3 separate regions of the Homo sapiens genome follow, and all the other regions are linked to region 1. The links are contacts of gene promoters, found by promoter capture Hi-C in blood cells and fetal thymus (Javierre and others, 2016). All regions are on one chromosome and are shown on one strand. The core of a region is centred on a gene start or on the middle of the fragment in contact, and the rest is flanking DNA. Distances in the headings are between cores, read along the strand shown. Region 1 holds the start of TXNDC8 (thioredoxin domain containing 8). Region 2 has its middle 26 kb from the start of OR2K2. Region 3 overlaps LOC105376219 (a long non-coding RNA gene).

The links. The method cuts DNA at HindIII sites, captures the fragments that hold promoters and counts their contacts. A CHiCAGO score of 5 or more calls a contact.
Region 2: a contact is called between a fragment that was not itself captured here and the fragment with the promoter of TXNDC8 in region 1, in 1 of 17 cell types (neutrophils). The highest score is 5.9, in neutrophils.
Region 3: a fragment that was not itself captured here is called in contact with the fragment with the promoter of TXNDC8 in region 1 in 1 of 17 cell types (endothelial precursors); the score reaches 5.2 in endothelial precursors.

The regions. Positions count from the first base shown.
Region 1 is chr9:110,336,345-110,339,710 of GRCh38, forward strand. TXNDC8 (thioredoxin domain containing 8) reads right to left here and starts at 1,519. Exons shown (of 6, transcript NM_001424031.1): 1 at 1,429-1,519. The coding sequence starts at 1,452. It overlaps LOC124902245 (a long non-coding RNA gene), which reads left to right. Exons shown (of 2, transcript XR_007061728.1): 1 at 1-1,893; 2 at 2,181-2,298. The HindIII fragment of the contact is 4,418 bases long and covers 356-3,366 here.
Region 2 is chr9:111,302,862-111,306,227 of GRCh38, forward strand. No RefSeq gene overlaps it. Among named protein-coding and RNA genes, the nearest start is that of OR2K2, 26 kb to the right of the region's middle. The HindIII fragment of the contact is 6,759 bases long and covers 1-3,366 here.
Region 3 is chr9:111,279,819-111,283,184 of GRCh38, forward strand. All of the region lies in intron 1 of LOC105376219 (a long non-coding RNA gene), which reads right to left. Among named protein-coding and RNA genes, the nearest start is that of MIR7702, 10 kb to the left of the region's middle. The HindIII fragment of the contact is 3,113 bases long and covers 250-3,362 here.

The sequences.
Region 1 (3,366 bases), core at 269-2,768:
TTCCTCTGGGAGGGAGTAACTAACTTTTCAGAGAACCTTGCCAAGCCTTTATTTCTCACTTGCTTCTGAAGTTGTAAGGTAGATGCTATCCTCACAAACTCCCAACACTCTTCACTTTCCAGTAGTTGTTGTTTGGGTGTGAGCTGGCCTAATTGGACCCATGAACTTGACTTGACTAAACTATCTGAAGGGAATACTCTCATAGTATAGGTATTTATTTAACATATGCGTATTGAGGCCTATACTATGCCAGCTACTGCACAAACTGCTAGGATACCACTGTGGACAAAAACAAAACAAAACAAAACAAAAACTAGGCATTCTGTCTCCATGGAGTTTACATTTTAGAATGGGAAGCTTACTATAAGGTCAATAGGTAATATTTGTAGTATATTAGTGCTAATTGCTAATAAAGAAAATAAAAAGAAAATGAAGTAGGAAGGAAGAATGGGGGTTGGATTACAACTGTAGTCTGGATGGCCAAGGTCAACCTCAAAGAGAAGGTGGCATCTGAATAAAGATGGGATGGAGATCAGGGCCTCTGGAAAGGTCCCTGGGGAGGAGATGAAAGGTCTTCTGAGGGAATAAGGCTCCAGGCTATTCTGTGACATCCCCAGAATATTAAAACAATAAGTGTCAAAAGCATTAGCAAATGTGTGATGTTTCAAAACATGTTCTTATGTCGAAGTTACAGGGCAGTACTCTCTTTCAATCTGGTCAGTGTCATTTTTGTGATCTGTATAGCCACCTTTGGGGAAAATGTCACAAGTCTAAATCTGAGGCTGCTGGTGGACATGAGGCTCAGGCCCCAAACCCCCTCCCCTCCTCCAGCTCTTGACTTCTTGTAATGAGGGCAGGCATCAGAAGGTCTGGGTTCTAATGCCCACACCACCTCTTAAACGAACTAGCCCTGAACCTCTCTTTTAGAGGCAATTTTCTCCTTTATAAATCAAGAATTATCTCTGTCCTATACATGAATTTAGATTTGTTGTGACAGCAACATTGGGCTGTTCCCAATTTTCCCACCCCATTCCACATCTGGGGTTTCTATTATTTTTCCTTGGATAAGAGAAAAGATGTGGACTTCCTTACTTCCATGGAATTTTCCAAGCACAACTGAGGTACGATCCATGGGATCAGATACAGGATGGGATGTACTAGGAGCTGGTCTGGGATTCACCTGAAGTCAGGCAGGAAATAAAAGTCCAGGAGGAAGAAAGCCCTTCTTTATCAATTTGACCCTTGGCTGCTTTTCTTGATAGTACCATCCCTCAAGGAACAAGATAAAGAACAAGAATTTAGAACTCTCCCCTTGCTACAATGCAATGATAGAATACTGGATAGAGAGAACACATTCTTAAAGTTTTTCAAATCTGTTCCCAAGATGTCCACATTTGAAATACTCAGTGAAGCCAAATAAATACTTGCCGTGTCTTTAATAATCTGTACCATGATTACACCAGGGAAGTGCTGATGAAAATCCCCTGTTGGTTTAGTTGGATCACTGTAGCTGTCTCCTATTTATTACAGTATCCTGCCTGGAATACATGGATAACTTCTCTATGACATCATTAAACATGTCATCTCAGAACCTGGAACTTTGGCAGACTTTGGATCCTATTTCACTTTTATGCCATGACTAGTTCATTTGTGGACAGCCAAGAATCAGAAAACTGAGGGCTTTATATGCAGAATCAGTAATGTGTTTGCTTTATTTTCATCTTTTATAACCTATTTCTAAATATCCTTCTCCCTTCTCTAATCCCTCCATCCCATCACCAAATGAGAAGTAAGCAGAGTAATATTAAATAGATGAGATTTTCACTTAAGAATTTGAAGATTTTGCTGTTGAGAAAAATACTAAAGTCTTAACCCTATAATAATGAGTTTCCTGTAAGTTTGATTTCATGAGTCATAAATTCCCTGAACTTTGTTATTTTGCTCTAATTATTTAGAGAGTAAAGAAATGTCACTTTTATGCTCTAGATCAAGGGTTGGCAAATGTTTTCTCTAAGGGAACAGATACTATTTTAGTTTTATGGGCCTCATACAGTCTTTGTTGCATGTTCCTTATGTTTTTGCAACCTTTAAAAAATGTAAAAACCATTCGCAGCTAGTAGGATGTACAAAGAACAGCAGCAGTTTGCTGACCCCTGCACTTGATGATTTGCCATTTTCAGAACTGATGTCAGAAAAATTCTGAACATGACCATGGCCAATGTTCTTCAAATCTACAGAGCAACAAGAACAACCAAAATGAGAAATAGTAGATTCTATAATAAAACAAAAATAGCAAAATCCTTCTTTCTGTTTTTCTATATATGCAGCTCTGGGCCTTCAATCATGTGTTGCATGAAAACTGTCAGATGGAGACAGTGGCTGCCTCTGTAGAGGTATTTGAAGTATGCATGTAACAAAATATCACATGTACCCCATAAATACGTAGAAGTATTATGTATTGATATGGTTTGGCTGTGTCCCCACTCAAATCTCATCTTGAATTGTAGCTCCCATAATTCCCAAGGGTTGTGGGAGGGACCGGTGGGAGATAATTGAATAATGGGGGCAGTTCTTCCATACTGTTCTCATGGTAGTGAATACATCTCATGAGATCTGATGGTTTTATAAGACGTTTCCCCATTTGCTTGGCTCTCATTCTCTCTTGCCTGCTGCCATGTAAGACGTGACTTTCACCTTCTGCCAGAATTGTGAGGCCTCCCCAGCCACATGGAACTGTGAATCTATTAAACCTCTTTTTCTTTATAAATTACCTAGACTTGGGTATGTCTTTATCAGCAACGTGAAAAGAGACTAATACACGTATTAACAAAAAAATTTTTTTTATTATAGTTTAAGTTTTAGGGTACATGTGCACAATGTGCAGGTTAGTTACAAATGTATACATGTGCCATGTTGGTGTGCTGCACCCAGTAACTCGTCATTTAACATTAGGTATATCTCCAAATGCTATCCCTCCTCCCTCCCCCCACCCCACAACAGGCCCCGGTGTGTGATGTTCCCCTTCCTGTGTCCATGTGTTCTCATTGTTCAATTCCCACCTATGAGTGAGAACATGCGGTGTTTGGTTTTTTGTCCTCGTGATAGTTTGCTGAGAATGATGCTTTCCAGCTTCATCCATGTCCCTACAAAGGACATGAACTCATCCTTTTTTATGGCTGCATAGTATTTCATGGTGTATATGTGCCACATTTTCTTAATCCAGTCTATCATTGTTGGACATTTGGGTTGGTTCCAAGTCTTTGCTATTGTGAATAGTGCCGCAATAAACATACATGTGCATGTGTCTTTATAGCAGCATGATTTATAATCCTTTGGGTATATACCCAGTAATGGGATTGCTGGGTC
Region 2 (3,366 bases), core at 525-3,024, 970 kb after region 1:
TCTCTCTGTGTCTGAGCATCTCTGGTGTTTCTTTGTATGCCTAAATTTCTCCTTCCCATAAAGACCTTCAGCCTCCCAAAGTGCTGGGATTACAGGCATGAGCCACTGCGCCCGGCCCATTGCTTGTGCTATTTAAAAACACAAGAAAACCTGAAATAATTTTTTTCAAGGATAATGTACTCTGGAAATACTTGCATAAAACATGGCATAGCCCCCATTTTTTGTCAATGTGTCTTGCAAATTGGAATGCTAGTCTCTAGATGTAAATTTCATCCACTGCTAACTTTGGATGCTAGCTTTTTTCCAGTTTGTTTGCCTTGACAGGTTTCAGGACACACTATCTCAAAGTAATATAAAAATGTTTCATATATAAATATTTTTGCCTTTTCATGTGACATGACTTTCCCCCAGTTGAATAAATACAGATATACATCATTTTTAATTACAGCATGATATTCTGAGAGTATGTCATAATTTTAATATTGCTTTGTATGAATCAGAACCTCATTTTAACTCAATCACCTCTTTAAAAGCCCTATTGCCAAATAATTACATTCTGAGGTACTAGGGACAAGGGCTTCAACAGATAAATTCTGGGAAGACACGATTTAGCCCATAACACCAGGTGATGCTCAAACACAGTAAAGTTGAGAACTATTATAATATGACTTAAGAAAGGTCCAGAGAGATACATGCCAAACTAATTAGAGAAATTAACTCTAGGAGTATGGCTGGGATGGGGTGGGAATGGGGTCAAAGGAGAACTCTGGTAAAGCATATCACTTTAGTGGTTTTTACAAGAATATATTGGTTCATTGCTTATGCTAGCTATTTATTTACATACTTATTTATTTAGAGACAGGCTCTTACTCTGTTGCCCAGGCTAAAGTGCAGTGGGAGTATCACGACTCACTGCAGCCTTGACCTCCTGTGCTCAGGCAATCTTCCCACCTCAGCCTCCCGAGTAGCTGGGACCACAGGTGCACGTCACTATGCCCAGCTAACTTTTTAATTATTTGTAGAGACAGGGTCTCCCTATGTCACCCAGGCTGGTCTCAAACTCCTAGGCTCAAGCAAACCTCCCACCTCAGCCTCCCAAAGTGCTGGGATTACAGGCATGAGCCACTGCACCCAGCCCACTGCTTGTACTATTTAAAAATATACCCAAAGGATTATAAATCATGCTGCTATAAAGACGCATGCACACGTATGTTTATTGTGGCACTATTCACAAAAGCAAAGATTTGGAACCAACCCAAATGTCCATCAGTGATAGACTGGATTAAGAAAATGTGGCACATATACACCATGGAATACTATGCAGCCATAAAAAAGGATGAGTGCATGTCCTTTGTAGAGACATGGATGAAGCTGGAAACCAACATTCTGAGCAAACTATCGCAAGGCCAGAAAACCAAACACCGCATGTTCTCACTCATAGGTGGGAATTGAACAATGAGAACACTTGGACACAGGGTGGGGAACATCACACACCGGGGCCTGTCATGGGGTGGGGGGAGGGGGGAGCGATAGCATTAGGAGATATACCTAATGTAAATGACGAGTTAATGGGTGCAGCACACCAACATGGCACATGTACACATATGTAACAAACCTGCACGTTGTGCACATGTACCCTAGAACTTAAAGTACAATAAAAAAAAAACAACAAAACCTGAAATAATTTTTTAAGGATAATGTACTCAGGAAATATTTGCATAAAATATGGCACAGCCCCCATTTTTATCAGTGTGTCTTGTAAATAGGAATGCTACTCTCTAGATGTAAATTTCATCCATTGCTAACTTTGGCCTACGGCTGAAAGACAACAAATACTAGAAAGGAAATTAAAATGGATTTTGATGCCATACCTAAATTCGTTTCCTCTAAGCACAGCTGGCAGGCAATCTGGTACTAGGAGTAGCCTCCTGTGGACCAGGACTGCTCAGAATAATTACTAAAGTAGGTGGTATATTCCAACTCAACTTAGCAGACACAGTGGAAATAGTTCTGACCGATGCAGGGTAGAACGGAACTAGCCCTTGACTTGTCCTGGGCACTGTGCTAATATTAATACAATGTTTAGGAATCATTCTTCCCTAACAATTGAACAATAGAGCATGAAGATAAAAGAAAATATTTTGGTTAATCTGCAGGTGCATTAGAGGCAGAAGAATGGAAGATGGGGAAAGGAGCTGGAGTCCTACTGGGAAGGGCTTCTTTGCCCAGGGAGCAGTAAAATGCATGCAGCCCCTCCACCTAGCCTGTCTCTCACTTCACCAGTCCTCTCAGAAGACCTTCCTGTGGCCTTCTGGGAGAAGCAGCCAATTGGCTTAGCTCTGCAAATAGCCCAAGAGTATGTCTTTGTTGACAAAATATACCAAACCAACACAATCATAATGCTTTTCTTTTTCTTTGGCACCTCAGTTCATTATGACGGTATTCCCACTACACCAAGTACAAGTTATAGACTAATCCTCACTGTTCTGGAGGGAGCTGAGTTTCAAGAGACTTCATTACAGGTTAGAAACAAGAGGCATTGCTGCCCTGGAATTGTTCACAGGTTAAATAAGATACCATGAGACTCAGACCCGAGGGTAGGCAATAGCATAGGAGTGAGTGTGTACAAATACAACTGGGACTTATTAGTAAGAAAACTTTTCTTCTCAGAAAGTTTCCTAAGGGGAATTTGAAGTGGATTCCAGGTGAAATTGATTTCTCCTTTTGAGTAACAATGAAATACTGAGAAGTGAGAGTAGTTGAAAGTGTTCATAAAAGGGTCCATAAAAGAGTGGCATAAAAGTGTCACTCTCGGCCGGGCGCGGTGGCTCATGCCTATAATCCCAGCACTTTGGGAGGCCAAGAGGGGAGGATCACTTGAGGTCAGGAGCTCGAGACCAGCCTGACCAACATGGAGGTTTCTCTACCAAACCTTTATCTACTAAAAACACAAAATTAGCCAGGCGTGGTGGCACGTGTCTGTAATCCCAGCTAATCAGGAGGCTGAGGCAGGAGAATCACCTGAACCCGGGAGGTGGAAGTTGTGGTGAGCTGAGATCGTGCCATTGCACTCCAGCCTGGGCAACAAGAGTGAAACTCAGTCTCAAAAACAAAAAAAGTCACTCTCAACTTTAAGAAATTTGCTTTATATTATATATTGCCAATACTATGAAGTTTCATAGGGGGATGAGAGTGAGTGCAATGTTTCTGCTGGAAACGGTGGACTTTACTCTAGAACTCTGTCCCTCGAAATGTGGCCTTTGAACTACGTGCATTGTGTAATCAACTGGCGTGCTCATAAAGTGCAGTTTCTTAGGTTCCACCACAGGTCTACTGAATCAGAATTACTGAGAATGAGGCCCAGGA
Region 3 (3,366 bases), core at 556-3,055, 940 kb after region 1:
TAAAAACATAAACATCCTTTACAATTGGAAAGTGATTTCTCTGCTTTCCAGTTTTAAGGAAAATCTCATAGAATTAATATTATGCAACAGATAGTTCCTGCTTTAGTAGCTTAGGATATAAAACAAAGTCACTTATTTTTGAATCCTTCATCTCTCTTTAAAGCATGCCTTTTATTCTTCCTCCTTCAACACACCACTATCACATCCAAGATAAGTCCACCAACCCCAAGAATTGACTGTTCAATTCAAAGCTTCATTCCTGGTTACAAATGCCTTTTAGAGAGAGAAAAAAAAAATAACTTTTATTTTAGGTTCAGGGGTACATGTGCAAGTTTGTTATATAAATAAACTCATGTCACAGAGGTTTTTTGTACAGATTATTTTGTCACCCAGATGCTAAGCCTAGTACCCAATAGTTATTTTTTCTGATCCTCTCCCTCCTCCCACCCTCCACCCTCAAGGTGGCCCCAGCGCCTGTTGTTCCCGTCTTTGTGTCCATGTGTTGTCATCATTTAGCTCCCACTTATAAGTAAGAACATGCAGTATTTGATTTTCTGTTCCTGTGTTAGTTTGCTAAGGATAATGGCCAAAGGAACAAAACAGAAAGCCCAGAAATAAGGACATACATCTACAACCATCTGATCTTTGACAAAGCTGATAAAAACAAGCAATGAGGAAAGGACTCCCTATTCAATAAATGGTACTGGGATAACTGGCTAGCCATATGCAGAAGATTGGACCTCTTCCTTACCCCATATACGAAAATCAACTCAAGATGGATTAAAGACTTAAATGTATAACCCAAAACTATAAAAACCCTGGAAGACAATCCAGGCAATACCATTCTGGACATAGGAACAGGCAAAGAGTTCATGACAAAGATGCCAAAAGTAATTGCAACAAAAGCAAAAATTGACAAATGGGATTTAATCAAACAAAAGAGCTTCTGCACAGCAAAAGAAACAGAGAAAACAGACAACCTACAGAATGGGAGAAAATATTTGCAAACTATGCATCTGATAAAGGTCTAGTATCCAGCATCTATCAGGAATTTAAACAAATTTATAAGAAAAAAACAAGCAACCCCATTAAAAAGTGGACAAAGGACACAAAACAGACACTTCCAAAGAAGATATAGATGTGGCCAACAAGCATATGAAAAAAAGCTCAATATCACTCATCATTAGAGAAATGCAAATCAAAACCACAAGGAGATACCATCTCACACCAGCCAGAATGGCTATTATTAACAAGTCAAAAAATAACAAATGCTGACAAGGTTGTGGAGAAAAGAGAACACTTATGCACCATTGGTGGGAGCGTAAATCAATTCAACCATTATGGAAAGCAGTGTGGTGATTCCTCAAAGAGCTAGAAACAGAACTACCATTCGATCCAGCAATCCCATTACTGGATGTATAAAAGGAAAAGAAATTGTTATATCATAAAGATGCATGTATGCATATGTTCATTGTGTCACTATTCACAATAGCAAAGACGTGGAATTAACCTAAATGTCCATCAAAGGTAGACTGGATAAAGAAAATGTGGTACATATACACCATGAAATACTAGGCAGCCATAAAAAAGAGTGAGATCATGTCCTTTGCAGGAACATGGACGGAGCCAGAGAGAAAATTTTGTCTACCAGATGGCCCCATACCCTACTGCCTCTCGGGCTGACACTGCCACATAAGGTCACTAGTGAAGCCCAGGTGGTTCGGTAACTTAGGTATGATCCAGCTTTTTTTCCTGATAAATTTATGGCAAAATGGGCCCACACTTCTATCAAAATCTTGCAACCCATCAGCATTTTTTTTTTTAAGACAGAGTCACACTCTGTTGCCCAAGCTGGAGTACAGTGGCTCAATCTCGGCTCACTGCAACCTCCGCCTCCCAGGTTCAAGTGAGCCTACTGCCTCAGCACCCCCTAGTAGCTGGGATTACAGGCACATGCCACCATGCCTGGCTAATTTTTGTATTTTTAGTAGAGACGAGGTTTCGCTATGTTGGCCGGGCTGGTCTGGAACTCCTGACCTCAGGTGATCTACACGTCTCGGCCTCCCAAAGTGCTGGGATTACAGACATGAGCCACTGCGCCCAGCCAACCCATTAGTTTTGTGATAACTGTGCTCCACTTCCAGGCATAGACCCCTTAGTTCAGGCTTTTCTACCAATGGCAACAGATGTCATCTGAAGTTTATTCACCCAAGTAGTACAGAACCCAAGGCTAAAAGATAAGCAATACGTGTAGGCAGATTGTGAGTACCTGGACATCATTAACCAATAATTTACCACTTGTGCAACTGTTGACTTTATTGGGCAAAAAATAAAAGAGGAAACACAGCCACATGCTTGGATGTGGTCCATATCATTTGGGTTCACAGATTCTTAGAACTCTCAACCAATAGCTCAGACTCAACCCTGTGCCTTACTTATTTTGACCTTATACGCACCTGCAAGCATCATTTTCCCCAGGAAACACTCAGCACAAGGATGACTGGATTCAAGGAAGTTTCAGATCTCAGCACCTACTATCTAGGATTTATTCATTCTCTCTCTCTCTCTCTCCCTCTGTCTCTCTCTCTTTCCCTCCCTCCCCTCTCCCCCATAGAGCCTGCAATCAGAATATATAATTTCTTCTCACTCTCCAGATCTACCCCCTCTTTCTAGCTTCTGTATGGCTTTTTTTTCATGAAGTATCCAAACATGTTAAAATTGAAAAAGTTTCTTTCAGAATCTGTTTTATATCAAATGAAATTAATTGTGATGAATTGTAAATACGGCAATGAGCAGATAAATTCTTATTGTCCTTAAGTCCATCCTGAGAATAGGTCCAAGAGTTTAAGATGTGATGAGACAAAACATGCTTTCAGACATGAGAATTTCAAAACTGTACAAGAAGATAATAAAAACTGTGAATGTATATTAAAGTTATATACTTTAACCACGGCAATATACATATACTCCGGCCCACTGTTCATGGTAAGAACTTGAATGAGCATTATCAGAGCTCTTCAAGGAATTGTCCCTCACATTAAAAAAAAAAATGCTGTCTCCATAACAAGAAATAAAAATTAGTACCGCCAAAAAGAGGACTTGGAACAGATGTAAGCTCTAGAAAGTTCAGAAAGTGACTACCAAGGGACATTGATTTTTTATTTTTAAAAAATGCACAAGCGTCAGAAATGTTTGGCAACATATGAATGAAAATCAGCCTGCATAACTTTAATTGGGTACTGGAAATTTTTCCATGTGTTGCCAACAAAAACAGATGGAGAGTATCATTTCAAAGAAAGAGGTAATGAAACTTCCCTTGAAGGAATTGCTTAAGAAAAATGGTAACACTTGATGGCAGAGTAAGCT